Linked DNA regions of Homo sapiens: region 1 is linked to region 2. The links are contacts of gene promoters, found by promoter capture Hi-C in blood cells and fetal thymus (Javierre and others, 2016). All regions are on one chromosome and are shown on one strand. The core of a region is centred on a gene start or on the middle of the fragment in contact, and the rest is flanking DNA. Distances in the headings are between cores, read along the strand shown. Region 1 overlaps GABRA4 (gamma-aminobutyric acid type A receptor subunit alpha4). Region 2 holds the start of ATP10D (ATPase phospholipid transporting 10D (putative)).

The links. Contacts are between HindIII fragments. The CHiCAGO score rates a contact against its expected background, and 5 or more counts as called.
Region 1: a contact is called between a fragment that was not itself captured here and the fragment with the promoter of ATP10D in region 2, in 1 of 17 cell types (M2 macrophages). The highest score is 5.7, in M2 macrophages.

Annotation. Positions count from the first base shown.
Region 1 is chr4:46,976,687-46,979,792 of GRCh38, reverse strand. It overlaps GABRA4 (gamma-aminobutyric acid type A receptor subunit alpha4), which reads left to right. Exons shown (of 9, transcript NM_000809.4): 3 at 695-762; 4 at 2,163-2,383; 5 at 2,650-2,732. Among named protein-coding and RNA genes, the nearest start is that of GABRA4, 15 kb to the left of the region's middle. The HindIII fragment of the contact is 1,942 bases long and covers 400-2,341 here.
Region 2 is chr4:47,483,843-47,486,723 of GRCh38, reverse strand. ATP10D (ATPase phospholipid transporting 10D (putative)) reads right to left here and starts at 1,449. Exons shown (of 23, transcript NM_020453.4): 1 at 1,205-1,449. RefSeq lists enhancers at 1,277-1,346, 1,318-1,612. The HindIII fragment of the contact is 11,274 bases long and covers 1-2,881 here.

The sequences.
Region 1 (3,106 bases), core at 121-2,620, 510 kb after region 2:
ATGAGAGAGTCGTTTTGCTGAGCATCTTATTTCAGCAATTTCATTTGATCGCTATCAAAATCTTGCCTGATGGTTGTGGTGGCTACTATTGAGGAGTTAAATAACTTGCACAAGATTGTACAGCTAGTAGGTGGCAGAGTGTAAGTATCTGTCACTTGTAAGAAAGTTTGTCTTTGATCCCAATCAGCAGTGGATGGTGTGCTTGTTGATAAAGGTGACATGAATCATTTTTAAAATTATTTACTAGTATCCTCAGCTCTCCAAGGATACATTCCTTACAGCTGTTATGGTTTTTCTCTTCTTTGTTGCTGTGGCCACACTTCCCCTTTTTAACAGCTCACTTCTTTATTAGAGGCCAATCAGATGATGGACTATAAAATATCGCAAAGGTTAAAAGCTTTTGTGTCTCTGCATTGCCTGTTGTAACAGTACCCAGGGGTGACGTATCTTTGAAGAAACAAGGTTCCTGGTAAGTAATTGGGGTTTCTTTTTGCCTGTAAGTAAACACTGCTTTCTGGTCTTGTTGCGCTTTGGTCTACATTTGTTTTGTAGAGATTCATTATCTCACTGAAAATGTAAGATGCTTGTAAAAACATGATATATCATATCTGTATTTACTCTGTAATTATCTAACCTTCCCAGCCTGTAAAATTGGTAATTATTTTTTCACACTTATTTACTTCATACCCGTTAGGTCCTGTTACAGAAGTGAAAACTGACATATATGTCACCAGCTTTGGACCTGTTTCTGATGTTGAAATGGTAGGTATTTTCGAAGTTTAATGTACCTTTTGAGACTTGAAGAAAACATGTAGAAAAGAGGGCAATTAATATTTATTTTGTTGTCAATCACACAAAGCCAGAAACCTAAAGAATCCCTAATTAAACTTAAGAATGTATGAAGAGTAAGACATTGAATCTCATTCAATTTGCATTTCAGTTGTAACATTTGAGTACTTGTTGATTTAGGGTCATTCTAAACAAAGAGAAGAACTTTCCTATTACTGGTTCCTATAGCACAACCTAGGGTGCAGCTTTTTTGCTTTCCTTTTTACTTTTCTTTTCTTTCTTTCTTTTTCTTTTTTTTTTTTTTTTTTTTTTTTTTGAGATGAAGTTTTGCTCTTGTTGCCCAGGCTGGAGTACAATGGCGGGATCTTTGCTCACTGCAACCTCCATCTCCCAGGTTCAAGTGATTCTCTTGCCTCAACCTCCCAAGTAGCTGGGAATGCAGGCATGCCCCACCGTGCCTGGCTAATTTTGTGTTTCTAGTAGAGATAGGGTGTCTCCATGTTGGTCAGGCTGGTCTCGAACTCCTGACCTCAGGTGATCCTCTCACCTTAGTCTCCCAAATTGCTGGGATTACAGGCATGAGCCACCGTGCCCGGCTGTTTTTTCTTTAGGAAACTATTGAGGAGGAGAAAATTAGAGGTGATAATTAGTTTCAGTATGAACTAGTCGTGTACACTATTTTATAGTTTTCATTATATTTAGTATTTCATGTTGATCTAATTGCTTGCTGCCCATCCCAGCCCTTCTGCCTCCTTCTCACTCATGTTTAAGAGCTTAGAATACGAAGCACTGGTCAGGAAGAATTCATCCATACAGTTGTGCTCTCTTATATTAAATATATTTAGTTTGCAAGACAAAAAACTTACTTTAGTTTATTCATTGATTTAAAGCTCCTAGTAATTTGAAACCCTTGAGTTATTTGACTCATTTTAATAAACTTTGTGAAAATAAAATATCTCTTACACATATTATTTTGTCTTTAAAATGCCTACAATTACACGATTAATTGTGCATGATATTTTTTACACTTTAACTGATTTTTGCTATCTAGTCTAAAGTAAAACACAATTGTAACTACCTGGTACTGGCAGTTTTCTTAAATTATAGCAAATTTATTATTAAATTATTAGTATGTGTGGTAATTTATTTATCTTATGAATGTAGAAGATGAAGGTATCAAGATGGATAAAAGTTATTCTAATTGCTGAGAATCTTTTTGCTCCATTGATTCAAGATCATTCCTGCTCCTATTAATTTTATTTGGAGTGGTATTTTTTTATGAGCATGAAGGAAGACAGAATTTAATGCATTATTTTCACATACTTATGTGTAGTCATTTGCAACTTAAATATGTTCCAAAATAATTGTCCTAGGAATACACAATGGATGTGTTCTTCAGGCAGACATGGATTGACAAAAGATTAAAATATGACGGCCCCATTGAAATTTTGAGATTGAACAATATGATGGTAACGAAAGTGTGGACCCCTGATACTTTCTTCAGGAATGGAAAGAAATCTGTCTCACATAATATGACAGCTCCAAATAAGCTTTTTAGAATTATGAGAAATGGTACTATTTTATACACAATGAGGTAATATTTTTTTTTACTTCTTCCCTTCCTTTTTTATTCTTTTCTTTCTTTCCTTTCCTTTCTTCCTTCCTTCCTTCCTTCCTCCCTCCCTTCCTCCCTCCCTTCCTCCCTCCCTTCCTCCCTCCCTTCCTCCTTCCCTTCCTTCCTTCCTTTTCTTCCCTCCCTTCTTCCTTCCTCCTTCCCTCCCTTCCTTCCTATTTTAGAATCTAAAGTCACAATTATTCTTTAAAAGGGTTGATTTTATTTAATTGCATTTTTCATCATAGACTCACCATAAGTGCGGAGTGTCCCATGAGATTGGTGGATTTTCCCATGGATGGTCATGCATGCCCTTTGAAATTCGGGAGTTGTAAGTTATAATAAAAATTTTGCTAGAATTTATGATTACCTCATGCAAGCTAATATTTACACATGTATTTTATTTTTCATAATCCAACATTTAAGTCATGGTCCATAACAAAAACTGTCCGGTTTTATTTCTGGAGATTTCATTAACTAATATTTTATAATAAAGAAATAAAAACAACCTCCTTTCCCCACAACAAACAAAAACCTATTTATACAGATAATCTAAGTAGTCTTAGTCACAATTGGCTGGTGATCAGTGGTGAAATTTAGGGACCTCTGAACTCTACATGTTGGTAGTGTTACACAGAAAGTACAAATTATATAGATAAATATATATATAATTGATATAATTATAACACATATCACTTCAGATAG
Region 2 (2,881 bases), core at 200-2,699:
AATAAAAATAAACTATCTCAATGTAGGTATATGATACGTATTTGTAGTGAGAATAGAAAACAGTCCAGAAGAAGCAGTTATTACTTTTTGAGGTGGATCGGAGTGGGAGGTTCTTGCTGCGGGCACTGAACAAACTACTCCGTTGCAATGATTTTTGCTCTTCACAAGTCAGCAAGGGTTTTCGATGATGCTATTCTTCACAGAAATGTGACCTACATGATTTAAAGGCTGATACAAGTAAATATTGGTGGATGAGGAGCCCCTGTCCTTGTTGATGCATCTCTCAAGGTTGATTTTGAGTTAGAGGTTTGCTCTGTCCATACAGACTTGTTTTTCTCCCTGCTTAGAACCAGCATGAAAAGAACGCAAGAAGAAACTTTGGTCTTATTCAGATCACATTTTAAAAACCTGAGCTAGCATGATAAGAGCAGTTAAAACATATTCTTTCTAAAGGCACAGGGTCCCAGACACCAAAATAACCATCCATTCCCTAACCAACTGATGTCTCTCTGCTGTACGTGGTAAATTAAAACTACATGTTTTACAACGTAAAATAAAGGGTGCCCCGAATAACAACTAGGTTCTTTAAAGTTAGTGTTTTGGGGGAAGCATGGGGGCTTCTTTGTAGCACTCCTTTGAAAACTATTTCCGAGAAAGCTCCAATACAAACACCTTTTTCTTCCTAAGGAATCAACCTTAGGGAATCAACCTTAAGGAATCAATCTGCTGGGCTAAATCTTCAACACCTTCCCTTTTCATCACCTTTGAGGCAGATAACCAAAATTTCTTTAAACTGCTTATTTCACAACGGGATGACAAAGGAGTGTGTGTGTGTGTGAATGCGTGTGTGTGCGTGCCCGTGTATGCCCGCGTGTACAAAGGTGTGTGAGAATGCGTGTATGTACGTGCCCGTGTGCGCCCGCGTGTGCAGTTTACCTTTTTACAAAATCCAGCATTTAAAATAGATTTTTAAATTCCCCTTTAACAAATGATTGAAAATGGTGTAATCATTTTATCTTTTGTTGTTTTTTTTTTTTAGTTCAGTAACAGCCCAGAACTGTAGTTTTGAGCCATGTCATCAAATCTAAACACGACTAGGGAAGTGGAGCGGGGAGAAACAGGAGAGAGAAACAGAAAGGAAAAGCGGGTGGGCGGTGAAGCAGAAGGCTGGGACAGTCAGAGGGATTCGCCGTCTCACTCTTACCAATTCCTCCCTCGGCACACATCACAGCATGTTGGTCACGAGTCGCAAGGTACAAGAAAAGAGCTAAGCACAAATTCGAAGAGTGAAAGCGGGTTGTGCTTCCACGCCAGCCATTTGCCTTCCGGGAAAAAAAAAAAATCACTTAGACATCTCCCAAACTCAGCTGCGGGAGCCAGCGCCGGAGCCTGTGCTGAGCTCGCAACCTACTTCTCCCTCCGCTCCTCCTCCCGTCTCCGCCAGGCTGCAGAGCAGCCCGAGCTGCAGTGCACCGCCAATCGCCCACCGCCCCGCCCTCCGTGACGTAGCAGCGGCAGGGCCTGGCAACTGACCGGCTCCCAGCTCCAGCTGTTTGACCGAGCTGCCCTTCTGCCCAGCGCAGATGCCCCAGTGACCCAGAGCCCTTACAATCTCACCTCTGACTTTCACCTCCCAAGTACAGGTTGCTCGCGGTTGACGGTTTGGTTCATTGTTTTGCTGCAATTCTAACAATTCACTGTTTTAGCTAAACGTGGAACACTGGACAATTATTTTTTGGAGGGTAAAAGAGATCAAATCTAAAAATGTCGCGCCACTGCATTCCAGCCTGGGCGACAGAGTGAGACCCTACCACAAAATAAATAAATAATATGTAATGTTACTGTTTTTATGACTAGAAAAGAAATGAGGAAAAATATTACAATTCTGATTTGGTCGTTTTCCTCACACCTTGCCCTTCCGTTCCCTTACTCAGGATAATGTGGCTTTGTCCATACACCTGCCAAGGTCCGTTTGCTTAAAATTCACAACTTTTTTTAAAACTTCTAAATAAGTTTCAACAACCTGTCTGGTTTCTCAAAATGTCTAATTTGGAAAGAGGAAAAGCCATTTAGTGAAGGCCGAACCAATAACTCAGAACAAAACCTAATAATCTTGGCTGCCTGTTTTATCCCATTGAAACAAATATAAAAAGTGGGGCCAAACTCTCCACAGCTCTCCTATATTGTGCCTCTCTCTTCCATTCTCTCAAGTGTTTCTCAGATGTGCAACAAGAGTGAAGAAAACTAAATGAGCATGCAAATGTTTGACTATTAGTAAAGAGCTCACCAGTACAGACACAGGGAGCTGGTTGGTCGGCTTGAAAATTCTCTCAGACCAAGAGAAGCCAAACAAGTTTCTGCACCCACTGAGAACGTGCTTCTGCCAGACGAGGAGAAACAAGTTCTGGGTGTGGCTTCCTATGATGCTCCATTAGGGAAGCCTCCATCTGCAGGTAAGGACAAATCTCTAGAACTTAGTCAAACTTAATCCCCAGAATTAACCCAGCCTAGTAGAATACACTGTCATTTACATGGCCTCTGAAATTCCTGGCCCTAGTAGCACTTTTTGCAGTCATATGACTGTCTCTAACATCCTTTAAGATGAAACACATTTCCTATCTGAGAGTCAACCTTATAGAGGAGACTTAAAACTGTAGCTGGGCCCCCCTGAGCTCTCCCAATCAAACACTGGTGTTGTTACCTCAGCAGAGGGCCTTCCTGGGAACGTACATACCAGGACAATTCAGGCATGTAGCCTGTTTGGATTGCTTAAATCAGTGGTTCTAACTAGCTACACATCAGAGTGAACCGGGGAGCTTGATGCCAAGGCCCCACCCAGGCCAATTAAACCAGAATCTCTGGGGGTGGCGCTATGGCAATG